Linked DNA regions of Homo sapiens: all the other regions are linked to region 1. The links are contacts of gene promoters, found by promoter capture Hi-C in blood cells and fetal thymus (Javierre and others, 2016). All regions are on one chromosome and are shown on one strand. Each heading gives the region's core, a stretch centred on a gene start or on the middle of the fragment in contact. The rest is flanking DNA. Distances are from core to core; before and after follow the strand shown. Region 1 holds the start of H2BC6-AS1 (H2BC6 antisense RNA 1). Region 2 holds the start of OR2B2 (olfactory receptor family 2 subfamily B member 2). Region 3 has its middle 3.6 kb from the start of TRQ-TTG3-3. Region 4 has its middle 18 kb from the start of TRQ-CTG6-1. Region 5 holds the start of TRV-AAC1-5 (tRNA-Val (anticodon AAC) 1-5). Region 6 holds the start of TRS-CGA3-1 (tRNA-Ser (anticodon CGA) 3-1). Region 7 overlaps LOC105375001 (a long non-coding RNA gene).

Region 1 (3,748 bases), core at 815-3,314:
AATATGAGCTTTTGAACTATTTGAATCCCACCCAAGAAGGGTAATTGGAGAATTTGAAACAAAGATCACATTATTCAGTGATATTTCTTGACTAAGCATGACTTATTATGTGTTAATGCTACTAAAGTGTAGCTAGAACTGAAGTAGAGATTCCTAATAGTTCATTATAGAAGCACATGTAGAAAGAATCCTCTTTGTATAGAAAATATTAATGGTGATGGCAAAATGGCACCTAATAACTAAACCCTTCTTATTTCTTCAATCAGGGGAGAGACATGAAGACAGAGGAGAAATGAATGCATAAAATAACTGATAATATGAATCTATACATAGAACTTAGGAAGTCTCATCTGCCTGAAAATGACTGTGTGGATCCCACCCAAATCCAACTCATCCTGGTTTGCTGCACACTGGTTCATCAAAAGAAGGTTACCGAGGGGAAGGAACTAAAGGTGTTTGCACTTCATGTTACTTTTTGAGTTTATAAACATAAAAACAGAATTTACTTCTGTTACAGACCTAGTTACTGGGAATTCATTACTTGCCATGGACTACCTTTGCTAAGAAAAGTCTGAATGAGAAGATGGCAGGACGTCTGAAAAAAAAAGTTATAATTAATAAAATCTGCGGAGAATTGTAAATTCTGCCTTCATTGTTGATCCAAACCTTTCTTCTAAGACCTCCCCTTTCTAGACATCTATCTACCTATTTTCACTTTACTTTCCAGCATCAAGGAGGTCTGAGTGGATAAGGCCTAAGCACTGATGTGGCTTTGGTAATGAACCTGAAGTTAAAAACTGGTTAGCTTATGCTAAGCTGCCATTTGAAAGGTCTCCTCCAGCATCTGAATTAAGGGAAACAATGTTTTGAAGCAGTCACAAAACTTTTCTGATGCATTAGATCTGAGGTAGGACCTGATAATTTGTACTTCTAAATTATGCAGGTGATGCTGATGCTGCTGGTCCGGAGACCACTTTGGAGAGTTTTACTTTAAAGGAAATGAAACTGCCCTAAAATGCTAATACTAAATAGCCACACAAAGCCGGAAAAAAGCAAAGAATTTCAAACCGAAGATGAGAGGTCCTGAAAAATAACAGCGGTCATCCTACTCCCGGTGCGGCTATGCGGCCATGAAAAGGAGTCTTGGGGCCGGTCGTGCCCCTCCACGCAGGCTCCCTCATAGGGTCATCCCATCAACCCTCGCCAAAAACGCCGGCCCCCTCATAGGGCCGTCCGGCCACGCCCCTCCGTGCCCTAACCACAGAGCCACACGTTACGCCGCCGCCCCGTTACGCCCATCCGGCTCCCGCATAGGGCGTCACGTACGTTTAACGTCGGCCCGGCGCGCGCGTCCGGGAGGTTGCCCGTAGGCCGCTAACTGGTGGTTCCCAGTCCCCGCCGACTCGGCCTCTTTCTTCTGCGGCCACCAGATCGCGGGATATCGGAGACTTCGAACAATCCGCTGGAGTCCTTTACAGTTTAAAAACAGAGGACCGGCCGGGCGCGGTGGCTCACGCCTGTAATCCCAGCACTTTGGGAGGCCGAGGCGGGCGGATCACGAGTTCAGGAGATAGAGACCATCCTGGCTAACACCGTGAGACCCCGTCCCTATCAAAAGTACAAAAAAATTAGCCGGGTGTGGTGGCACGCGCCTGTAGTCCCAGCTACTCAGGAGGCTGAGGCAGAAGAATCGCTAGAACCAGGGAGGCGGAGGTTGCAGTGACCGAGATCGCGCCGCTGCACTCCAGCCTAGGCGACAGAGCGAGACTGCGTCTCAAAACAAAAAAAACGGAGGATCGAAAATTTTGAAGACTGAGAGCAAGGCAACAATCTTCCCTTGACCTTTTTGCTCCTCTCACAAGGGTTTTTCAGACGGCTGAAACCAACGAAAAGAGTGAGGAAGCAGGCAGAAAATTTCAGCTTTAGTCTCTCAGCATCCTCCTGCTTTCTTCTCGGGGAGCTGGCACTTCCCCCTTCTCTAGTAGCTGTAAATACGCCTCCCAACTCCAAGGAGACCTTTCTTGCATCTCCCTTACTGTTCTCACGCCTGTAGGGCTCTTCGTGTGAGGATTCAGTGTATGTATGTATGTATATGAATGTGTGCGAATAATTATTTCCTAATTGAGTTTTTTTTTAAAAAAATCATCTTCCGGTACACGCAGTGCCGTACTCCATTAAACAGCAGGCACGGTGTCTAGGGTCCGCAGTTCTTTTGGAGGCTCATGAAAATATTTTAATTTCTTCTAAAGTCAGAAGGAAAAAAATGAACATTTAAGTCGAAGAAGATGTTACATATTAATCTTCATATGACTTTAATTTTTTTTTTTTTTTTTTTGAAACGGAGTCTCGCTCTGTCCCCCAGGCTGGAGTACAGTGGCGCAGTCTCGGCTCACTGCAAGCTCTGCCTCCCGGGTTCACGCCATTCTCCTGCCTCAGCTTCCCGAGTAGCTGGGACTACAGTCACCACGCCCGACTAAGTTTTTTTGTATTTTTTAGTAGAGACGGGGTTTCACCGTGTTAGCCAGGATGGTCTCGATCTCCTGACCTCGTGATCCGCCCGCCTCGGCCTCCCAAAGTGCTGGGATTACAGGCGTGAGCCACAACGCCTGGCCTATGCCCACTAATTCCAATTCTTATTTGATCTAATTGTTTATAGATTCTTGTGAACTTTTACCTTGACAATTATGTTATTTTCAAAGATAATCATCTTTTCCTATTGAATCCTTGCTCTTCTGACTGCCTGTTCCTATCTCATGGTATTGGCCAAACCCTGTGATGCCGTGTTGAATAGGAGTACTTTCTCACCACACTTGTCTTCCTTCCGCCTCTATGGGAATCCTTCCAAAACGGCACCATTAAGTGTTATACTCGCTGTAGCTCCTCCTTATGAAGTTCTCTTCTCATTGTAGTCTGTTAAGTGTTTATGATTAAAGAGTGTTATATTTTGTTAAATGCTTTCGCAGTATCTTTGGAGATGATCATGTTTTTTCTTTATTAATCTCTTTTTTATTTTATTTATTTTATTTTATTTTATTTTATTTTTTATTATTTTAGTTTTTATTTTGAGATGGAATCTCACTCTGTCTCCCAGGCTGGAGTGCAGTGCCCTGATCTAAGCTCATTACAACCTCTACCTCCCAGGTTCAAGCGATTCTTCTGCCTCACTTTCCCAAGTAACAGGGACTACAGGTGCGTGCCACCACATCTGGCTAAGTTTTGTATTATCAGAAGAAGATAGGCCGCCATTGGCCAGGCTGGCCTTGAACTCCTGACATTAAGTGATCCACCTGCCTCAGCCTCCTAAAGTGCTAGGAATACAGGCGTGAGCCACTGCTCTGGGCCTTCCTTTATTAATTTCTTAAACTGGCAGATTTAGAATACTAAACTTCCTTCTATTCTTAGAATAAACCCTATATAATCAGCTATTTATTTAAATAACATGGTCTCTGCAATTTCTCCTGGTTTCCATTTTTTCTCATAATAGGCATTTTTTTCTAAAAAACAAAAATGAATGTTCATTAGTGAGACAAAACTATAATTTTGTTTTTTTCTTCTTTCTCTCTTCCTTCCTTTTTAAAATTTGTATTCTCCAGTTTTGCTAATAATGTTATACAATTTTACAAGAAAAAAGTGAGTAGGAGAGCTGTTTTTCTATAGTAACAGATTCTGTGAAATAGGTATCATGCCAAGTGAGGTGGCACGTCCCTGTAGTCCCAGCTACTCAGGAGGTGAAGCAGAAGGACCACTT
Region 2 (3,748 bases), core at 571-3,070, 1.7 Mb after region 1:
GTGTGTGTGTGTGTGTGTGTGTGTGTGTGTAAGGATGAGGACATGTGTATATGTATCAAAATGTTTTGTTTCTGGCTTTTATTCTGGTTTCAGAGAAGTCTAAGTCTCTTCCCGATGTATACAGACTAGTGCTAAGATGTTTGAGACCTTAAAGATTTCAAGGCTATGCTATTTTGAGAGTTCATAAAAGATCAGTTCTTAAGACTTGTGCAATGAATATATTTAGGCAGTAGAAAACAGATATAGTTCTCTGTCGACATTTTATTTGAAGATCACTATAATAGTTTTTCTAAGAATAGTAATAATAAAGCAATTTGGAGAGAATTAAATTATAAGCTATGTAAAATTGAAGTCTTTAAAAGGCCTATAATTTGAGAATTCCTTTTTTTTTTATTAACACCCTTGCAAGCAACCTCTCAAAAGCTCCCTTTACATCTTTGTTTCTATGTGTGTGTGTGTATGTATGTATGTGTGTGTGCGTGTGTGTATTACTGAAGAGATGATTTCTGGATCAGAAAGGTCTAGTTTACACTGAATTGTACAAACATTGATGTAAAGTGTGACAACCCTTGAAAATGTTGTGATTACAGTTTTTGGTGCATTGGAAGGCCAATTCTGGGGGCTTGTTCAATGAAAATGTTTAGGCAACAGAAACAAATATAGCTTTTTGTCAAGGAAATTTTCTTTGAGGGAGATTACAATAGTTTTCTATAGTAATGACAAAAATAGGACAACTTGCGGAGAAGTTAGTAAGGTAAGTAAGCACTGTGTCTTTAGCAAAGCTTATCATTTGCATATTTCTTATTTCTTGATTAAGAAGACTCTTTGCAACCAACCTTTTAAAGGCTTCCTTTACCTCTTTGTTCCTAAGTGTATATATAAGGGGATTCAGCATGGGTGCAATGATTCCACAGAAGAGAGAAACCATCTTTCCCCGGTCTTTGGAGCTGGGTGAAGGTGGTTGCAGGTACATGGAGATAGCTGTACCATAAAAAAGTGACACCACAATTAGATGGGAGCCACATGTCCCAAATGCCTTTCGTTGACCTTCAGCAGACTGGATTCTCAACACTGCTTGGACAATAAAAGCATACGATATAAGGATGAGTGTCACGGGTATTAGAAGGAATAGCACACTGATGAAGAATAGTTCAGCCTCATTTGCTGTTGTGTCAACACAGGACAACTTGAGCAGAGCAGGGACTTCACAGAAGAAGTGATCCACTTCTTTGTGACCACACAGTGGCATCTTAAGTGTCCAGGTGGACTGTAATACTGAATTGCTAAAGCCACTAATCCAGGATGCAGCTGCCAACTGGAAGCAGAGCCTCTGGTGCATGATAATTGAGTAATGGAGAGGCCGACAAATAGCTACAAACCTATCAAAGCACATGACGGCCAGGAGAAGACATTCTGTGGAACCCAAGGCCAGGAAAATGAAAAGCTGGGCCACACAGCCACCATAACTGATTACTTTCCTGGTGTTGCATATGTTTACCAGCATTTGTGGAACTGTACTTGTGGTATAGCAAAGGTCCAGGAGTGAGAGATTGCTAAGAAAAAAGTACATAGGGGTGTGGAGTTTGAAATCCACATGTGACACAAGAATTATTGTCAGATTGCCAAAGATTGTCAAGATATAGGAAAACAGAAACATCACAAAGGGTGGAATCTCTAGCCATGGTTGATCTGAGAAAACTAACAGAATGAACTCCTGTGGGACACTCTTATTTACCCAATTCATGTTAAATGGTTCAACTCTTCGTTCTCTGAAATATAAGAAGTCAGGAAGTTAACAACACACTTCCTGATTTTGTCAGCTATAATCATTTTGCTATCAATTTACATAAAATTACAGACTGATCCAATTAATAATGTGAAAAAAGTATTGATAAAAATATAAATATTTATCCATCCAAGTATTTAAAAAGTGTTTATATATCTGTAACAGCATATTAGCAAATTGAATCGAATTTCAAGAATCTTTTTTTTTTTTTTTTTTTTTTTTTTTGAGGCAGAGTTTCACTCTTTTGCCCAGGCTGGAGTGCAATGGCGCCATCTCGGCTCACCGCAACCTCCGCCTCCCAGGTTCAAGCAATTCTCCTGCCTCAGCCTCCCCAGTAGGTGGGATCACAGGCATGTGCCACCACCCCGACTAATTTTGTATTTTTAGTAGCGATGGGGTTTCTCCACGTTGGTCAGGTTGGTCTCAAACCCCAACCTCAGGTGATCTGCCCACCTCAGCCTCCCAAAGTGCTGGGATTACAGGCGTGAGCCACTGTGCCCAGCCTAATTTCAAAAATCTTAAGCCATATTTTCAGTTTCCAAATTCACATAATGTATCCTTTGATATTTTACTGTTTGTAAATGTATTTTTCTCATTCTTCCTACCTAGATATCTACTGTGAGGTAGATGTAGATACAGTTTCCTGTCATTTGAATTCATTCTAATTTCTCTTCAAGGCCAGCGAGATTCCCTGATTGTAGAAATCAGTTAACATTAGTTAAAGCCACCTCCCATTATTCCCCTTCCCTCAAAAAAGCCATGTAGACAGTATCTAGTAAGTTATCAGACACAATTTAAGGAGACATATCCTTTTCGTTCTAGAAGCTCATAGAATTTGTATAGATTCCTTAGTAATATGATATTTGAAGGTGACAGGCTGGTCTCATATCCCTACCCTCTCTAATTAGTTACATTCATTATATTGGAATGCTTCTAACCCTTTGATCTCCACAATTCTCATTTGTAAAATGAAGATGATACAGTGGTTCCCCCTTTATCCATGGGGGATACATTCCAAGACCACCAGTGGATAGAAACCTGAAACTGTGGGTAGTACCAAACCCTATATATACTATGTTTTTTAATACATACACAACTATAACGTTTAATTTATAAATTAGGCACAGTAAGAGATTAAGAACAATAATTAATAAAATGCAGCAAGTATAACAGCTCCAGACCCCCATTTATTGTAATACATGTTATGTGAATGTGGTGTCCCTCTCTTTTTTTCTCTTCAAAACACCTTATTCTAGTGTACTCACCCCTCTGTGTTCTGACGATCTGATAACCGAGATGGCTACTCAGTGACTAACAGGCAGGTGGATGCTTTAAATCAAGCTTGTCCAACCTGAGGCCCACGGGCTGCATGCAGCCCAGGATGGCTTTGAACGCAGCCCAGGATGGCTTTGAACGTGGCCTAACACAAATTTGTAAACTTTCTTAAAACATCATGACATTCACTGATGATTAAAAAAAAACTCATCAGCTATTGTTAGTGTTGCTGTATTTTATGTGAGACCCAAGACAATTCTTCTTCTTCCAATGTGGCCCAGGGAAGCCAAAAGATTGGACACCCCTGCTCTAAACAGAAGGATGATTCCCATGACTGGGTGGGACAACACAAGACTTCATCAGGCTATTCAGAATGGCATGTATTTAAAACTTATGAATTGTTGACTTCTGTAATTTTCCTTTTAATATTTGCAGACCATGGTTGACTGTGGGTAACTGAAATTGTGCAAAGCAAAACCACAGATAAGGAAGGACTACTGTAATGTTTTTCTAAGTTGTCTTGATGTGAAGTATAAATGATGTGAGGTATTAACGCACACACCTACCCTAGACTTACACCTTTAGAAATGGAGAAGAGTGGATGAAAGGAACTATAGTGATCCAAGGTCTGAGGTGCTCAGAAAGGAATTACTTATGATTTTTAGAACTTTAAATTTCCTAGGGTTA
Region 3 (3,748 bases), core at 891-3,390, 1.6 Mb after region 1:
TGGCAAAATAAACTTTCTAAATTGATTGAGACCTGTTTCAGATACTTTAGGTTCACACTACTCTCTCAGTGTTGCCCAAAAAGCCTGTCTCAAATTTTTTGCCACCATAAATAATGCCTTAGTGAATATCAGTGTTCATGTTTCCTTTGTTATGTATCTTCAAAAATGGTGTTTACAAAATTGTTGGCCTGGGAGTCTGAAAGAGTGGGATAAAATGCGGAAAAGTAAAAAACTTTAAGTAGATGATTAAAGAAAATTCCCCCAAAGATACCCTCTATGTGCTATGTACTGTTATTATATGAAGCAATAATAAGACATTTGTTGGGTATCATTCACTCAGTATTGCATTTAATGCACTGGTCTTGGTGATGGGGTACAGCTGAGACCAATACTCCTTTATTAGAATTTATCCCTTTATGCATCATTGTACAAGAATATCATTTGCTTTCCTAGATCTAGATCTTAGCAGGGGCAGAGCCATTTTCTCTTTTTTATTTTGTGGTGCATTTTTTCAGCAGCTATTTAGAAAATGTGCAGGTTTTTGAGGCTCTATGTAGGAATCATTTTGGGCTAAGAGCCAAGAAGGTGAACGATGAAGCTCAAAACTTCTTACCCACCCCATGGCTGTCTTTGCTCCCACCACTATGGCCTAACCTGCTGTTCCCAGAACATGCTAAGCAGAGCCTGCCTCTGGTACTTTGCACTCATAGTTCCTTCTGCCCCAAACAGCTTCCCCCAGGTAGCAATATACTCTCTCACCAGTTTATGCCAATGACAGTTCAATGAGACCTCATTTGTATGCCCTCCTTAAAAATGCAATCTCCAGCTCCCTATCCCCTTTCCTGCTGTATTTTTATCTAAACCACTTATCAAGGTGATGACATGTTATGGAATTTAATCCCACCTCAAAGTACCATAAGAACAGGAATTTTAGCAGGCTATTTTCAGCGTGTATTCTCAATGCTAATATATTGTCTCTCATATATTAAGTGCTCAATAAATGTTTTTTTGGTTAAGTAAGTTAATTTCCTTTAAGCTGGCTGATGGGGTCATATAGAGGTAAAATTACTGGCTCTGAGTGATTTTCCTCACTTATAAATATAATTTGCAGTAATTTCTATATTATTCTTTTCCTCTTAATGCATGGTGATAATTATTTCCCTGTTACATATGTCTTTTTTGTTTGTTTGTTTGTTTGTTTGAGACAGAGCCTCGCTCTGTTTCCCAGGCTGGAGTTCAGTGGCGCAGTCTTGGCTCACTGCAACCTCTGCCTCCCGGGTTCAAGTGATTCTCCTGCCTTAGCCTTCTGAGTAGCTGGGATTACAGGCATGTGCCACCATGCCCAGCTAATTTTTGTAATTTTAGTAGAGACGAGGTTTCACCATGTTGGCCAGGCTGGTCCTGAACTCCTGACCTCAAGTGATCTGCCCACCTCGGCCTCCCAAAGTACTGGGATTACGGGCATGAGCCACCATGCCTGTCCTACATATATCTTATTCATTGTCTTATTCAATCATACAACTTCCTGATAAAATGAGGCTGATTTTCACCCCTATTTTGCTGTTAAGGAAACTGGTATAATGAGTGTCACTGACTTGTTTGTGATCACACAGTGGACAAAATGGCATTTGTTTCTTTGTGGTGATCTCACAAAGGTCAAGATGACCTTAGATCCTCAGTTTTGGCTGTTTTTTTTTTGTTGTTTTTTTGTTTGTTTGTTTGTTTTACACCAAGGAACCAGGTTCTAGCTCCTATGTTTGTTCATTGCATGGAAAGGAACAGGAAGATCTGGGGGCCACTGAATGGAAGGTTAGATCCATTTTCTTGGTTAAGCTTGTAGGTTTTCTCGTCTCTTTTCCTTCCTGCAGCACAATTCTTATGAATGGCAATATCTTCTATTAAAATTCTCAGTCTGTAGTCTTCTTGTCCATACAGAAAATAGATTTCAGGTCAACACATTTGATAGTCTGGACTGTGCTAACTGCTCCAATATTTGAGTACATCTTTTGGGGATGTGGGAATTTAGTGTTGTAGGCCTCAAGTGGGGTTCGTTCCCAGAATTTGGAGAGGCTATAGAAATATAACCTGGTTGGCCAGGCACGGTGACTCATGCCTGTAACCCCATCAATGTGGGAGGCCGAGGCAGGTGGATCACCTGAGGTCAGGAGTTCGGGACCAGCCTGGCCAACATGGAGAAACCCTGTCTCTACTAAAAACTTTTAAAAAATTAGGCGGGCGTGGTGGTACGTGCCTGTAATCCCAGCTACTTGGGAGGCTGAAGTAGGAGAATCCCTTGAACCCGGGAGGTGGAGGTTGCAGTGAGCTGAGATCACACCATTGCACTCCAGGGCAACAGAGTGAGACTCCATCTCAAAAAAAAAAAAAAAAGAAAAAGAAATATAACCTGGCCATAATATAAGCATAAATAAAATAGATGACATTCTTTCAAAGCTTTTCTTAGCCTCTTATGTTTCTCAGATATTAAATAATCGGGCCAGGCACAGTGGCTCACGCCTGTAATCCTAGCACTTTGGGAGGCCGAGGCGGGCAGATTAACTGAGGTCAGGAGTTCAAGACCAGCCTGGCCAACATGGTGAAACTCCATCTCTACTAAAAACACAAAAAATTAGCCAGGTGCAGTGGCACGCGCCTGTAATCCCAGCTACTCGGGAGGCTGAGGCAGGAGAATCGCTTGAACCTGGGAGGTGGAGGTTGTGGTGAGCAGAGATCGTGCCACTGCACTCCAGCCTGGGCGACAGAACGAGACTTCATCTCAAATAAAAATTTAAAAAAAAAATAGTCAAATGCAAAATAAAGTAACATTCCAGCAATTTAATGACAGATATTGAAGCCACCTTTGCAAAATTATGACTGAGACAGAGAAAGAGATGGAATTTAACCAACTCCGTCTTGCTTCTAACCTCCAAGCCATCCTTGTTCATTCCTGGGTGTAGGCTGAACTAATTTAGGGAGAAACTTAGTTTGTAGTTTATAGTTTAAACAAAGATGGTAACAGCCCTTTCCCAAAGCAGACCTCCTTCTTGCCTTGGGACTGGATTGCCTTTGTAGGACTAACATTAGCCACAAGATTAAAAATTATGGCAGCTGGAGGCTACAAGATTCTAACCCTCCCTAACTGCTCCTAAGATCAGTGCTTGAGATATTTTGCAGACGCTGCACTCAAGATGGGTCAGATAGCACCACCCAGATCTATTAACTGGCTCATCTGATCCTGTAGCCCCCACCCAGGAACTGACTCAGCACAAGAAGAGAGCTTCAACTCCCTATGATTTAATCTCTGACCATTCAGCACTCCTGGCTCACTGGCTTCCCCCCATCCACCAAGTTATCCTTAAAAACTCTGCTCCCCAAATGCCCAGGGAAACTGATTTGAGTAATAAAACTCCAGTCTCCTGCACAGCCAGCTCTGTGTGAATTACTCTTTCTCTATTGCAATTCCCCTGTCTTGATGAATCAGCTCTGTCTAGGCAGCGGGCAAGGTTAACCCCTTGGGTGGTTACAATATGTACATGGGAAAGTGGTTGGCCTGCTTGGAATTGGAACAAAGGCAAACTAAGCATGATGATTATCAATGAGTTGCAGCCCAAAACCAACCAAGGAAGGACTATTAGTTCATGCTAGATTGCCTGTGTGGCTGTTTAAGACAGGATTCCACCAACAGTAAGAGAGACAAGTTTTAATCCCATTCAAAATTATGAAACTATTCCTTAGTAACCAGGCTGTTTCA
Region 4 (3,748 bases), core at 808-3,307, 1.6 Mb after region 1:
CCCTGCCCTGCCCCCCATAAATTCGTATGTTGAAGTTCTAACCCCCAATATATCAGAATGTGAACATGTTTGGTGACAGAGTCTTTATAGGGGTGATTAAATTAAAATGAGGTCATTAGAGTAGGCTCCTTCCTCCGTCTCCCCCCTCCCATCCTTTTGGATTGGGGTCTCACCGTTTTGACCTCATTCAACCTTAATTACCTCCTTAAATGCCCTATCTCCAAATACAGTCACGTTGAGATTAGGGGTTTGGCACAGGAATTTTGATGGACACAGTTCAGTCCACAACAACCCCCATCCCTAAATTTACTTAGCTTTAAAACAGATACAACCGGCAAGACAACACAACATGAAGTGATTAGCTGACAATGTGGTGCAGCCTCTGGATGCTTAAGGTGATGAAAATATAATTAAGCCTGTCTGCATAGGTTCGAACCTGCCGGCTACAATCCTGTCCCACGTATTGACAGTTGTGAATCTCCCGCGGTGCATTTTCAGACGAGATCGGGCGCGTTCAGAGTGGTATGACCATAGACCCGCAGTGCATTTTCAGCCTCCCTCCTGGCCTATACCCGTCATGCAGACACTAACCAATCCTTAACCAACCTCATCCTGGCCTCTTGATTTGTAGAGTCTTCGCTGAGGGGAGGAGGGCCTTACTCGTGATGTGTAAGAAGAGCAGCAACCAAAGGCTAACGTGAGAGTCACTTTTCAAAGCACCTTTTCAGCAAACAAGAATCAGCTGTCGAGTTACCAGCTCCTGTGGCTCCTTCCCCGCAGTCTCCACCAGGCGGCGCGCCCCAGGAAGCCGGACGCCTGCTACCGCGGGCCGCGTTTCTTTGTGCAAACTCAGCAAGGCCTGGCAGCCTTGGAGAGCAGGCCTTTAGCAAGCCGCGGAAACGCAACTGGGTGCCAGGGTTACTCGTTGCATTTGTGGTGGGCAGAGCTTCCTCCAAGCAGTCAGAGGAAAGCTCTCTGAAGGTGTGTAATTTCGTTTGGTAATTAGCATATAATTAGGTCTTGGGTAGGGCATGGGTCAAATCCAGCGCCACGTTGGACTCAGACGGTTTCAGACAGCTTAGCCCTCATCCTGTTTATTAGGGTCTTATCAGCCCAAGCTCTTCCTTGTCCTTGTAGCTAATTTTAACAGCTCCTTTAGGAGCTGTTAGGAGCTTAGGAAAGCTCTCCGACTGCTTGGAGGAAAGCTCTGCCCATGAGACTGCTCGGAGGAAAGCTCTGTCCACCACTACAGCGCTAAGGATATCGCCCAAGCTCTTTGCTAAATGTCTCTTGGGAAAAAGCTCCTCATGAAGCAGGTAAGACTGATTTGTAGTTTAATGACCTGCAGGTCCCCACATGAACACGAGGAAAGGGACGTGCAAGGCAGTGTTGAAGAAACATCAGCAGGTCTATTTGAGGTTCTCACCAGGTATCTTTCCTGATGGTGGGATGGGAACTTGGGGCCCTGTTGTAATTCCAGATCTGGGAAACTGCTGATTTCTCCTTCCCCCCAACTCTCCATTCCATCTCCTTACCACTCTCGTTATGATAATTGTCCCATGGTGCATTAATTCTTTTCCAGCCTTGTCGTTCAAACACTTATGTTTCCTGTAAGTACCATTAACAGCTTCTCTTGAACTGGTTTCTCTAAAAATTCCTCCTTTACCTTTCTTCTAAAGTGTCGGATCCTTTACCTTTCAAAAACGAGGAATAGGTCTCGTGGCTCATGCCTAGCGAGACCTCATCTCCACAAAAAATAATAATAAAAAAATTAGCCAGGTGTGGTGGTGTGGGCCTGTAGTCCTAGTTACTGGGGAGGCTGAGGTAGGAGGATCACTTAAGCCCAGGAGGTCAAGGTTATAGTGAGTTATGATCGTGCCACTGCACTGCAGCCTAGGTGACAGAGCAAGACCCTGTTCCCCACCCTCTGCAAAAACAAACAAACAAAAAAGCATCCTGATAAACATAGACATGAAATTGAAACATACAGGTGAAGGGTCACAGATTTATGCCTCAGTCTTCTCATCTGTAAGACAAAGACAGCCTCATCACTTTTAATGAGGTGAGCGAATGAGGGAGGAGACCACCCCTCATATTGTCTTATGCCCGATTTCTGCCTCCAAAGAAAGAAGAAGTAAAAACTAAAAAGCAGAAATGAAATCCACAGGCAGACAGCCCGGCGCCACGCCCTGGGCCTGGTAGTTAAAGATTAACCCCTGACCTAACACTGGTTATGTTATCTATAGTTTCCAGACATTGTATGGAAAAGCATTGTAAAAATCCCTGTCCTGTTCTGTTCCGTTCTGATTACTGGTGCATGCAGCCCCCAAACATGCACCCCCTGCTTGCTCAGTTGATCACGACCCTCTCATGTGGACCCCCTTAGAGTTGTGAGCCCTTAAAAGGGACAGGAATTGCTCACTCAGGGAGCTCGGTTCTTGAGACAGAAGTCTTGCCGATGCTCCAGGCCAAATAAACCCCTTCCTTCTTTAACTCGGTGTCTGAGGGGTTTTGTCTGCGGCTCTTCCTGCTGCACATTAAGTGAGGTACACCACTGCATATTACATGGCAGGTGCTCAGTCTCCTCCTTCCACTTCCTCACTGGTTTTCTAGTGAAGAGAGAATGAAGGGGTGGGTTGCCCCTCCACACCTGTGGGTGTTTCTCGTAAGGTGGAACGAGAGACTTGGAAAAGAAAAAGACACAGAGACAAAGTATAGAGAAAGAAATAAGGGGACCCGGGGGACCAGCGTTCAGCATATGGAGGATCCCACCAGCCTCTGAGTTCCCTTAGTATTTATTGATCATTCGTGGGTGTTTCTCCGAGAGGGGGATGTGTCAGGGTCACAAGACAATTGTGGGGAGAGGGTCAGCAGACAAACACGTGAACAAAGGTCTTTGCATCATAGACAAGGTAAAGGATTAAGTGCTGTGCTTTTAGATATGCATACACATAAACATCTCAATGCTTTACAAAGCAGTATTGCTGCCCGCATGTCCCACCTCCAGCCCTAACGCGGTTTTTCCCTATCTCAGTAGATGGAACGTACAATCGGGTTTTATACCGAGACATTCCATTGCCCAGGGACGGACAGGAGACAGATGCCTTGCTCTTGTCTCAACTGCAAGAGGCATGCCTTCCTCTTATACTAATCCTCCTCAGCACAGACCCTTTACAGGTGTCGGGCTGGGGGACGGTCAGGTCTTTCCCTTCCCAAGAGGCCATATTTCAGACTATCACATGGGGAGAAACCTTGGACAATACCTGGCTTTCCTAGGCAGAGGTCCCTGCGGCCTTCTGCAGTGTTTGTGTCCCTGGGTACTTGAGATTAGGGAGTGGTGATGACGCTTAACGAGCATGCTGCCTTCAAGCATCTGTTTAACAAAGCACATCTTGCACCGCCCTTAATCCATTTAACCCTGAGTTTGACACAGCACATGTTTCAGAGAGCACGGGGTTGGGAGTAAGTTCATAGATTAACAGAATCTCAAGGCAGAAGAATTTGTCTTAGTACAGAACAAAATGGAGTCTCCTATGTCTACTTCTTTCTACACAGACACAGTAACAATCTGATCTCTCTTGCTTTTCCCCACAGAGAAGGCCCATGCAACACAGACCTAAACCCCTTTGAGAGGAAAATAGGGCATTTGGTGGAGGGGAGGGGAGGAGTCCTGGCTTGCGGCTATAAAAATGTTTTTCCACTCAGATTATTTTCTGAAAGAGGCTGAGATCAGGCACCTGAGTCACTG
Region 5 (3,748 bases), core at 491-2,990, 1.6 Mb after region 1:
TATTGAGCTAAACTGCGACAGAAAATATTTAAAGGGCCCAGCTCCGTTCCATTGTTATGGAGCAAGGAAAAGTGATTTTGCTGCTGAGAGGTAATAAATAGATAACCGGACAGAAGAGAAAATGCTGACTTTCTTTGGACTGGTTCGAATTCAAACACACTTTTATATCCTTGTCCAAGTGCACAATCCATGGTGAAAGTTTAAGAGCTGTCAAAAAGTTTGTTTTGGCCGGGCGCGGAGGCTCACGCCTGTAATCCCAGCACTGTGGGAGGCCGAAGCGGGTGGGTTACCTGAGGTCAGGAGTTCGAGACAAGCCTGGCCAACATGGCGAAACCCCATCTCTACTAAAAATACAAAAATTAGCGGAGCGTGGTGGTAATCCCACCTACTCGGGAGGCTGAGGGAGGAGAATCGCTTGAACCCGGGAGGCGGGGGTTGCAGTGAGCCGAGATCGTGCCACTGCACTCCAGCCTGGCAACAACAGCGAAACTCTGTCTCAAAAAAAAAAAAAAAAAAAAGTGTTTCCTCTCTGTGCTTCAGCAAAAAAAGAGCAAATCCAATTCCCCGAAGGGCTCAAAGCGAAGCGCTCTTCCTTAGAAATCCCCGAGGAAACCCCCTCCACGAAAAACCCGCAAGTGCTGCTCTCTGGATTCCAAGAAAGCCTGTCTCACCTGCGAGGTGCAGGCGGGTGGAGTTCTGGGACTCCGGTGCCTATTGGGATTGACACCACCGGGGTCACTCAGACGGAGATCAGAAAAGGAGGATGAGGGTGAGGGTTCGGCGTGGGGTAGAGAAAGGTGTGACGCGGGATTCAGCGCCACGTCGCTGGGTGACGGAAGGAGTACAGAAGTTGAGGGTTCACGTGCTCGGCAAAAAGCAAAGATTCTATTGGTTCAAATGAAAATACTCAAAAACAGAATTAGCGATAGAAAAAAAAGCGACTCTCTTTGTTTCCGCCCGGTTTCGAACCGGGGACCTTTCGCGTGTTAGGCGAACGTGATAACCACTACACTACGGAAACCAACGGTTACAAAGCTTCTTCTTTTTGACCTAAAAGACTAGTCCTGAATTCTCCCCCTTTCCCTCCACCCCCACCTCCGATTTTTTTTTGATTATGGTGAATTACACACTTTCACATTTACTATTTATAATATAAAAACTCGATGTCCTAATTTAAGTTGAGGAACATTTGATAAATAATCGGTTTGTACTTTTTTGTATAATAAACTATATTTCCCAGTAGTTACTTATACAAAGAGGCATAGAATTAATTTGGGAAAGGTAATTTGTTAAGATTTATGCATCTATGAATCTATGAACTAATTTTTAAACCTATTTCTAGTATTTAGATGTTCTTCCCATTGTTTTATACTTTAAAAAATACTGATTAGTTTTCAAATTTATAGATATAAATGTTTTAATGTTATATAATGTTTATATAACATTATATATAATGTTATATAATGTTTATAAGATATAAACATTTTAATGTTTAGTTGTAACCAACTAGTAGCTTCAATGATAACTCAATTCGAAGGAATTCTATAAAAAGTAGAACATTATGCTTCCCATAACAAAAATAATAAATAACTGGCTAATGACTTCACCTGACTGTAGCGTAGTCTTTGGTGCTCTAATTAGAAGAGAAGCTCTTTTCTTTCTAGAAATACTTGCCGACCTCCTTGTGGAAAACCCTCCCTTTCCGCTGTCTGCATTCGGATGAGAACCAGATCACCAGGGAGATGCAGACCAGGGGGACACTTCCTCCTGTTAACACTAGCGGAGCTGGTGGAACCCAGCCGACCATGCAGGAGGGAGGAGCTGGCAACGCCCTGAACGGTGGGAGGGGAAAGCATGCGGGGTGTCAGCGTCTCTAGGGTTTGGATAAGCCGATTTCAAGTCCAGGACAGGAGAGAAAACAAAAGAGTTCTGTTCAAATAATAATAATAATAAATCTTACTGAGTTTCAAACCAAGGGTCTTTACTGTATTGGGCAAATGTGATAACCACAATACCAGTAAAACTTGCCTTTGGTCCCATGTCTCTTCTACAGGAAAAAAAAAATACAGTTTTTCCAGATGCCCCAGGTTCTATAATCTCAAAGCTGCCCTTTCTTCCCAGAAACTCTCACAGTGGTGGTACGTTTCTTGCCCTTGTACTTTTAGTGTACTAAAACCAACAGCCAAACTTTATCATTTTAGCAATCCAAGTATTCACCCATGAGCCCCAATTTCTTTGCAAATGCCAGGCAAGAAAACCTCAAGTAGATAGAGAAGTAGAGAGCAGATGATTTGATTTTTTTAAAAAAATTCTACCATAGTGTCCTTATCTTATCCATGCAACTTGTTCTGATCTTCATCTTTCTAGTGCCAGAAAATGACCCTTTTAGGAACCCGGACCTGTAAGACTGAGCTCTTGGGACTATTAGCATTTGTTACAGAGCAGGTAAGCTTCAGGATGAGATATACTGGGGAACAGGTACAAGGTTACAAGATTGGATTCTATGTCACAAATAATTATTTCTCTGGAATGTGACAGTTCAATGCTATTTGATTTAGAAAAGGAGGATAAAACGCTCGTGTATTTTTTTCTTTTCTTTGTTCTTCTCTCCCTTTTCACTGTCTTCCTCTATCTACTTTCACTGCACACCTAGAAGCAAGCTGCCTTCTTCCAGATTCCTCCTTATAACTTCACTTTGCATATAAACACCACACACTCTCTGTGCTTAGAGGTGGTGGTTGGGCTGCCAGACCAGTCTGGAGAAAGTCTGTGCTTACTTTTTCCTCTACTTAGTATTCTTTCTTCCATGGGTGCCAGGAACAGAGAGCCCCTTCTCACCTTGAGATCATGTGAGCTGGTAGTAGCTGGATCATGAATAATTGGAATGCTGTGGGTAACAACTGAAAGAAAGACTGTAATTCCCAATTAACAAATTAGACTGTATTTCCCAATTAACAAATCAAGACCAGATTAGCAGCAACAATGATCATTAAAAATATTGTTAAAGAAAAAAAGAAAGAAAAAAGATAAAAAATATTGTTAAACTGGACATAGTGGTGTACCTGTAGTTCTAGTTACTCTGGAGACGAAGTAAATCAGGAAGATCACTTGAGCCCAGGAGTTTGAGGTTGCATGTGCAATGATTGTGTCTGTGAAAAGCCACTGCCCTCCAGCCTGGGCAATATAGGGAGACTCCATCTCTAATTTAAAAAAAATTGTTGTAAACACATTTATTTCATATTAATTAAAATAAATTATTGGCTGGGCACAGTGGCTCATGCCTGTAATTCTAGCACTTTGGGAGGCTTAGGCGGGATGATCACTTGAGCCATGAGTTCGAGACAGCCTGGGCAACATTGCGAGATCCCCATTTCAAATTTTTTTAAAAAGAAAAATAAATTATTGAGCTACAAACAATGTGCCAGACAATTGTGACCCTATGTTGTCACTAGGAGTACCAGAGGCATGCAGGACAAGATTACACAATCCTAACTCTCAAGGAGAAGAAAGAGGAACATGAGCAGCCAATATGCCATAAGCAAAAAGTGGAGCAACAGACGTACAGATTGCGAAGCATTTGGATGGTAGTATAGAGAGGAGGCATCTTCTTAGTCCTTATGAACTGGCAGGGCAGATCTGGCAGGGATCTTTGGAGCCAAAATATCTGAGTACAATTCCTTCCTCTGCCACTTTCTCATCATATGTAGGGTTTCAGGCAAGCTATTTGGCTTCTTCATGACTCTGTCTG
Region 6 (3,748 bases), core at 698-3,197, 1.5 Mb after region 1:
GCATCCCCACAGCCCTGCCTTTATGATTCAACGTTTCTTCAGATGTCCCCTTTCTTTTTGACAACAGTCATGCCCAGGGAAAGAGCTGTGCCTCAGAGACGCCAGGAATGTGGACTTCTCCCAATGGAAAAAAATACCGATGAAGAAGATATACGTGAAAAAACATTTTTTTAAAGCTTCTTTGATTTTTAAGCTTTCTAATGGTCTTTTTCTCCTTTCTCCTTTCTCCAGTTGAGAATGAGATGAAAGGTAGAAACAAAATCCTGTAAGTTGGCTCTTTCGACGCTTGTCTCTTTCACGTTCAAGTAACAGCACCACTCTGGAAAAGGACATTCACAGGATTGTTAATACGGCTTTGAAGAAGGAAAAAGTGAGAGCACAAGCGAGCCAGCCAGGAGTCGAACCTAGAATCTTCTGATCCGTAGTCAGACGCGTTATCCATTGCGCCACTGGCCCCTGCCTGTAACGCTGTCTTAACTGTTACTCTTTTCATAATTATATTGTATTATACTATTGGGGCCAGAAAAAAAAAAGATTGTTTCTTTATTTAGGTAGGGATTAAAACCCCAAACCACACTGATTCAAGGAAAGCATGTTTTCTTTTGTGGTTTGTTGGCATAATAGACATTCACATAAAGTGTCTTTATTGAAAATAATGACCATTTTTCATCTTTGAAACATTATATATGAGCTAAGATGAATGTCTTTCCTTCAAAGCAATATTGGTGTTTCTATCTTCTCTTTCATGTGTGTGCCTACTTTTTAGCTTTTTGTTACTTATTTTTCAGGCCAATCAGCTGCTTTTACCTGAATTTGATTTTTTTTTTTTTTTTTTTTTTTTTTGAGTCGGAGTTTCGCTCTTGTTGCCCAGGCTGGAGTGCAGCGGCGCGATCTCGGCTCACTGCAACCACCGCCTCCTGGGTTCAAGTGATTCTCATGCCTCAGCCTCCCAAGTAGCTGGGATTACAGGCATGTGCCTCCATGCACGGCTAATTTTGTATTTTTAGTAAAGACGGGGTTTCTCCGTGTTGGTCAGGCTGATCTCGAACTTCCTACTTCAGGTGACTCGCCCGCCTCGGCCTCCCGAAGTGCTGGGATTACAGGCGTGAGCCACCGTGTCTGGCCTGAATTTCATTTTTAATATACTTACATTGGGCACTAATGATGTATGTGGATCAGTAATGAGCAATATGTATTATTTTAAATTTAGATATTGCCAAAAGTAAAGTGCTTTGTAATACATTTCTGGAAGTATTAATCATAGTTTTTCCCTCTTCTCGTCCAAAAGGAAAAAACAAGTACCCACTCACTAGGGAGAAGTTTATTGTAAAATGGTATTACAACTCAAAGTAGCAGATGAAGACACTCAAATTTAACGAGGAGTCAAGAATTCGGGAAAGTACACATTTTTCAGAATCACATTTGACATAGAAACTTAGAAAAAGGAACTTTACTTGCATAGCTGTTCAAAGTAAGCAAAATAGTGGAAAATGAAGAAGTGCTTATAAGGAGACGAAGTTTCGTATGGGTTTAAGAAGGTGGTCAGAAGCCAAAATATATCCTCTTTGTGCCTCTGTTTCCTCGTTTATACAAAACGCTTTGAAGAGCAACTAATGCATATGACGGATTGTTATCATCCTAATTTTTTTGGCTCCCACCAGCTGTGAGATCAGGACAAATACAAAGTAAAGATTGCTGCCTGAGAATGCTTTAAGAAAGCTGTCATACTAGTAATCTAAAAGGGAAATTGTATTCCTAATATTTTCAACGTTGCACCTGTCTTGTATTTGCCATTATGATTAGATGTAAGACAACTAGTATCTTCTTTTTCTTTGAGACAGTCTCACTCTGTCTCCCAGGCTGGAGTGCAGTGGCGCGATCTCGGCTCACTGCAACCTTCGCCTCCCAGGTTCAAGCGATTCTTCTGCCTCAGGCTCCCAAGTAGCTGGGACTACAGGCGTGCGCCAGTAAGCCCGGCTAATTTTTCTGCATTTTTAGTAGAGACGGGGTTTCACCGTGTTGGTCAGGCTGGTCTCCAACCCCTGACCTCAAATGATCCGCCCGTTTCGGCCTCCCCAAGTGCGGGGATTGCAGAAGTGAGCCACCGCGCCCGGCCTTCAAATGTACATATTTCTTGATGTACATTTCCACAAGTGTGCGCGCGCTGTAAAAGCCACAGCGATAGCACTCACAACTTTCTATCCTAGTGAACTAATGAAAGCTAACTGATGAAAGTAGCAAATTGGAAATCTAACCAGAAAATGGCGACGCTGTGAGCAGGATTTGAACCTGCGCGGGGAACCCCCATTGGATTTCGAGTCCAACACCTTAACCACTCGGCCATCACAGCTCCGAGGACACTTTTTGTTTCAGAGGAAGTCGTGTTAGGCTCTTTGACTCTCTCGCTTTTTAATGTTCCCACGGCAGGTTAATGCTTCCGTGTTTGTATTTGTCACTTTTTATATATTTGTCTCTCTCTTTCAATAAGAAGTTCCTGGGAAACATAATAGTGTCTTAATCTTTACTTGTTATCTGACTCTCTATGCATCAGAAACTTATTTGGTGCTTAGTGGCTGCTTTTGTTGCTGGAACAAATCCCCGGAGACTCAGTTGTCTGTTCCCTATTCCTCCCTCCAGTTCATGAATTTTCTTCTCTCTTTACCCAGCACATGTTAGAGTCACGTTCTTGCTGCACTCTCAATTTCCCTGCCTCTCTCACTTTGTACTCCTTTGGCAAAGCCACAACCAGGGCAGCTAAACATGGCGGAAGAAAAACAATCAGTTGACAGACCTCACTTTAAATTCATGACAATGAATGTCAAGTAGGTGCTCAAGGCTACCAGGCAAATTGTACCATACGCGATTAGATTAGTCCACTCCCAATCCTCTTGTTCTAAGTCACTGTTTCAGCCGGATGCAGTGGTCCAAGCCTGTAATCCTAGCACTTTGGAGGCCGAGGCGGGGGGGGAGATCACCTGAGGTTAGGAGTTCGAGACCAGCCTGGCCAACATGGCGAAACCCCATCTCTACTAAAAAAAAAAAAAAAAAAAAGCCAGATGTGATGGCTCGCGCCTGTAATCCCAGCTACTCGGGAGGCTGAGGCAGGAGAATAACTTGAACCTGGGAGGCGGAGTTGCAGTGAGCTGAGATGGCGCCACTGCCCTCCAGCCTGGGTGACAGACAGTGAGACTCCGTCTCAAAAAAAAAAAAAATAAGTCACTATTTCATATCTCTCATGCCAATGCTCCAACACCTCCTCTCCCATCCTTGTGTTCAATTGATGACTTTACTTCCTACTTCACAATCAGAAGAGACCTTCCACGCACATCTATCACCACATTAATCCACCTACCAGCCTCTGAAGGACTGTCAGTGATCCTATAATGCCTTGACAAGGTCGCCGATTATCTCCACATGGCTAAAATCATTTCCCAGTCCTCACCTTACTTGGGATAGCTGCAGCTATTAATACATTCTCCTTCTTACAACACTTTCTTCAATTGACTTTAGGGTAACAATTTTCCTGGTTGTCTTCCACTTAGTAATAAGCATTTAAGATTCCTCCGTGTCTTTTCATGCTTTAATAACTCATTTATTTTTAGGGCTGAATAATATTCCATTGTCTGAGGTACCGTAGTATATTTATTCATTTACCTACTGAAAGACATATTGGTTACTTCCAACTTTTGGCAATTATGAATAAAGCTTCTATAAACATTTATGTGCAGGTTTTGTGTAGACATGTTTT
Region 7 (3,748 bases), core at 380-2,879, 1.3 Mb after region 1:
TCAGCGAGCACATAGCTGCAAGTGTAGCCCATGGCCAGTCTGTCACTGTGTCCTTGGCAGAAAAAAAGAATCCAACAAATCGGTAGGTTTTTATATTTAAGACATGGCACTTGCATTTTATTATGCTGGCGTGCATCCCCAGCATTTGGATAAGGGGCCAAGGTCAAGTCTCTCAGACTGTTGGCTGACAAACATTAAACCTGGAAATCCTAACAGAGTGTATGAAAAACAATTACAGTCAAGGGAACATGATAGAGAAAGCTTCGGTCATCTTAGAGAATGCATATATTGCCATGAAGAGAACATTGGTTTAAAAAAAAATGTTCAAGAGAATGAAAAGACAAGTCACAGACTGGGAGAAAATACTTGCAAAGTACATATCTGATAAAGAACTGATATCCAAAATATATAAGAACTCTTAAAACTCAACAATAAGGAGACAAACCGATTAAAAAAATAGGCCAAAGACCCTAACAGATGTCACCAAAGAAGATATGCAGATGGAAAATAAGCATATGAAAAGATGCTCCACATATGTCCTCAGTGAAATGCAAATTAAAACAATGGGATGCCACTATACACCTGTCAAAATGGCCAAAATCCAGAACCCTGACAATACCAAATGCTGACAAGGATGTGGAGCACAGGAACTTTCATTCATTGCTGGTGGGAATGCAAAATATTAGAGTTACGTTGGAGGACAGTTTGACAATTTCTTACAAAACTAAACATACTCTTACCATATGATCTAGTAATTGTGTTCCTTGGTATTTATGCAAAGGAGTTGAAAATGTATGTCCACACAAAACGTGCCCAAGAATGTTTATAGCAGCTTTGTTCATGATAGGCAAAACTTGGAAGCAGCCAGATGTCCTTCAGTACATGAATGAATACATAAACTATGGTACATTCAGACAATGGAACATTCAGTAAGGAAAAGAAATGAGCTATCAAGCTACCAAAAAGGAAGAACAGAAGAATATTAAGTGCGTATTGGTGAGTGAAAGAAGTCAATCTGGAAAAGGCTATATACTGTATAATTCCATCTACATAACATTCCTGAAAAGGCTAATCTATGGAAACAGCAAAGATTGGTGGTTGCCAGGGGCTTAGGGGGAGGGAAAAAGGGAAGAATAAGTGACATTCAGTGGATTTTAAGAGGGAAGAATAAGTGACGTTCAGTGGATTTTAAGAGGGAAGAATAAGTGACGTTCAGTGGATTTTTAAGGCAGTGAAACTATTCTGTATGATATTGTAATGGCGAATACATGTTGTTATACATTTGTTAAAACCCATAGAATATACAGCACAAAGAGTGAACCGTAATATAAACTATGGTCTTTAGTTAATAATAATTTATCAACATTGGCTCATCAATTTTAACAGATGTACCACACTAGTGCAAGATGTTAATAATAGAGAAACTGGGGGAGGAGGGGAGAAGGAAGGAGTATACTGAAACTCTACTTTCTGCTCAATTTTTCTATAAACCTAAAACTGTTCCCAAAATGTTCTATTAAATTTAAAATATAAGAATGTTAAATATGCTTATGGTAAGGTCTCAGAAGGAAATTAATGACATGCAATTAGAAACTGAAGGAATGGTTATCTTGTTATAAAGTGGGAGAGCCTTGGCTGAATTGTATTCTATATTTGGGTGGAAAACAGAATTTGTACATGATGAACTTGAATATTTAGTTAAGAAGACTTCCAAGTAAAATGTGGAATGTGCAACCTGGTTAGTTATTGCTGCTTATGGTGAAATGCATGAGGAAAGAAATAAACTGAGGAAGGAACTATTCAGCACAAAGGAACCAGCACTCATGATTTGGAAAACTTTTAGCCATACCTTATACAAATGAGGCTTTCAATACATGTTGAGGACACAGAAAGATATAATTTTTGTCTTCAGTGACTTCTCTATATGTTGCACAAAGTGGCCTCCAACTCCTGACCTCAAGCAATCCTCCCACCTCGGCCTTCCTAAATGCTGGGGTTACAGTCCATAAGCCACTGAACCCAGCCCTCAGAAACCTTTTGTGCTTAAAAAAACACCTCAGCAAAATACAAAGCAACTAGTGATATATTTGAACTGAAATTACTAATCAACTTTGGCTTGTTTTACTGTAACAATGACTAGGGACTGGCCACAGCTGCAATCTTACTTGTTTTACTGGGCTGAAAACAAAAACATAGTAGAATGGATCTCAGTAAAGGTAGAGAGTCAGGACTTAGTTGCAGGAAACAAAAACCAGTCCAGTTTCTACTTTAGCCCTAAATTGGAAACAAATCAAATGTCCTTCTATACTTAAAAAGGCAAATTGTCAGTTTTTCTTCAAATACAAGGAATACAAAGAAAATACATTTTTTTTCTACAAAGAAAAAAAAGTTAGCTAGGAGTGGTGGTGCATGCTTCTATTCCTAGCTACTCTGGAGGCTGAGGCAGAAGGATGGCTTGTGCCCAAGAGTTCAGGTTACAGTAAGCTATGATGGTGCCACTGCACTCCAGTCTGTGTGATAGAGTAAGACCCTGATTCTAAAATTTTTTTAAATTTCTTAAAAGAGATTTGATATTTCTTTGGTATCTAACTTTATTCAAAGCTGGAGTTGCAAATGATTTCAGCAAAAAAAAATAAAGATGTGCTTGATAAAAATATGTCCACCAAATAAAAAGGATGTGATATGCATTAACTATGAACAACAATCTATAGCACAACTTATATTTGTATGGACACCTGGCTACCCCATCAAACTGCTTCATGTCTATTCCCTCAAATTATGGTCTTCCATAAAACTAGTGAATTTCTTTTAGTCTTCTTTTGAGCCTGTAGGGGTGAGAGAATCTTTTTTCTCCCTTCTGGAGGTTGGATATTTGAGTCTGAGAAATAAAGCTGCTAGTAGACAGATTAACAGAAGAAAAGGCATACACATTTATTATGCACATATGCACAGAGGTCCCAGAAAGTGTAAGTGAGACTCAAAGAAGGGGCAGATGGTTGAAGCTTAAATAGGACTTGGAGCTACATAAAGAAATAGGAGCTTGAAGGCTCCTGGAAGGTGGTGGCGAGAAGCAATGTGAGGGTCAGGGCAGGAACAGCTCTGGGAACAAAGCTTGTCTTATTATACAGATAAAGTCTCTCAAGTAGCAGCCCTCAGAATAGGTGGTGAAGAAAAGAATTGAAGTCTGGCTGGGCGAGATGTCCCGGGCATGGAGACCTTTAGTTTTCTCTCCTGGGATCTGAGTTAATCTTCTCTGGTTAATACAGATTCCAGGAGAGGGTTCATGACAATCTCTTTCCTTCTGGAGGAACCTCCGTAAGTCAAATAAGGGAAACTTCAGTGAAAGCCCCTCCCTGCCATTCAAGAAAGAAAGAGGATCAGGAGGCAGTGGGGCTGCGGAAGGTCAGAGAGACTTTGATTCTGAGGTTGCTTCTTTAGTTCAAAGTACTCAGCACTTCCAAGAGCCATACTTTGGGGTATCATTTTCTGAGCTCTAACAAGGGTCCTCAGAAAATCTCTGTCTCTTCCCTTCCCGGTCTTCCTTCGTTTCTCCTCTTCCTCTTCCTCCTCTTCTTTCTCCTTCATCCTCTTCTTTCTACCTCCTGTCCCTCCTTCCTTTCTCTCTTCTCCTTTCTGGTCACTTTCTTCTTTTCCTCTTCCTTCTTGTCCCTCTTCCTCATTTATCTACTTAGTCGACATGATTTCTTAGCTTGCGATTGTTTCCCTCTTTTCTTAGATTAGTATATGG

The links. Contacts are between HindIII fragments. The CHiCAGO score rates a contact against its expected background, and 5 or more counts as called.
Region 2: a contact is called between the fragment with the promoter of OR2B2 here and the fragment with the promoter of H2BC6-AS1 in region 1, in 1 of 17 cell types (neutrophils). The highest score is 7.3, in neutrophils.
Region 3: a fragment that was not itself captured here is called in contact with the fragment with the promoter of H2BC6-AS1 in region 1 in 3 of 17 cell types (naive B cells, activated CD4 T cells and fetal thymus); the score reaches 7.3 in naive B cells.
Region 4: a fragment that was not itself captured here is called in contact with the fragment with the promoter of H2BC6-AS1 in region 1 in 2 of 17 cell types (M2 macrophages and M0 macrophages); the score reaches 9.2 in M2 macrophages.
Region 5: a contact is called between a fragment that was not itself captured here and the fragment with the promoter of H2BC6-AS1 in region 1, in 8 of 17 cell types (monocytes, total CD4 T cells, activated CD4 T cells and 5 more). The highest score is 13.0, in monocytes.
Region 6: a fragment that was not itself captured here is called in contact with the fragment with the promoter of H2BC6-AS1 in region 1 in 1 of 17 cell types (neutrophils); the score reaches 5.0 in neutrophils.
Region 7: a fragment that was not itself captured here is called in contact with the fragment with the promoter of H2BC6-AS1 in region 1 in 1 of 17 cell types (naive CD8 T cells); the score reaches 6.2 in naive CD8 T cells.

What each region holds. Positions count from the first base shown.
Region 1 is chr6:26,170,709-26,174,456 of GRCh38, forward strand. H2BC6-AS1 (H2BC6 antisense RNA 1) reads right to left here and starts at 2,065. Exons shown (of 3, transcript NR_186648.1): 1 at 1,327-2,065. It also overlaps a transcript of H2BC5 not described here. RefSeq lists an enhancer at 1,139-2,031. The HindIII fragment of the contact is 22,011 bases long and covers 1-3,748 here.
Region 2 is chr6:27,910,576-27,914,323 of GRCh38, forward strand. OR2B2 (olfactory receptor family 2 subfamily B member 2) reads right to left here and starts at 1,821. Exons shown (of 1, transcript NM_033057.2): 1 at 610-1,821. The coding sequence starts at 1,744. The coding sequence ends at 671. The HindIII fragment of the contact is 2,345 bases long and covers 781-3,125 here.
Region 3 is chr6:27,797,690-27,801,437 of GRCh38, forward strand. No RefSeq gene overlaps it. Among named protein-coding and RNA genes, the nearest start is that of TRQ-TTG3-3, 3.6 kb to the left of the region's middle. The HindIII fragment of the contact is 618 bases long and covers 1,832-2,449 here.
Region 4 is chr6:27,771,836-27,775,583 of GRCh38, forward strand. No RefSeq gene overlaps it. Among named protein-coding and RNA genes, the nearest start is that of TRQ-CTG6-1, 18 kb to the right of the region's middle. The HindIII fragment of the contact is 4,434 bases long and covers 1-3,748 here.
Region 5 is chr6:27,752,452-27,756,199 of GRCh38, forward strand. TRV-AAC1-5 (tRNA-Val (anticodon AAC) 1-5) reads right to left here and starts at 1,021; the gene lies at 949-1,021. RefSeq lists enhancers at 215-274, 445-534 and a silencer at 985-1,124. The HindIII fragment of the contact is 1,415 bases long and covers 1,034-2,448 here.
Region 6 is chr6:27,670,182-27,673,929 of GRCh38, forward strand. TRS-CGA3-1 (tRNA-Ser (anticodon CGA) 3-1) reads right to left here and starts at 2,350; the gene lies at 2,269-2,350. It overlaps TRR-ACG2-4 (tRNA-Arg (anticodon ACG) 2-4), which reads right to left and starts at 456; the gene lies at 384-456. The HindIII fragment of the contact is 3,512 bases long and covers 192-3,703 here.
Region 7 is chr6:27,474,247-27,477,994 of GRCh38, forward strand. It overlaps LOC105375001 (a long non-coding RNA gene), which reads left to right. Exons shown (of 2, transcript XR_926664.4): 2 at 848-1,734. Among named protein-coding and RNA genes, the nearest start is that of TRS-AGA2-2, 2.7 kb to the right of the region's middle. The HindIII fragment of the contact is 2,741 bases long and covers 260-3,000 here.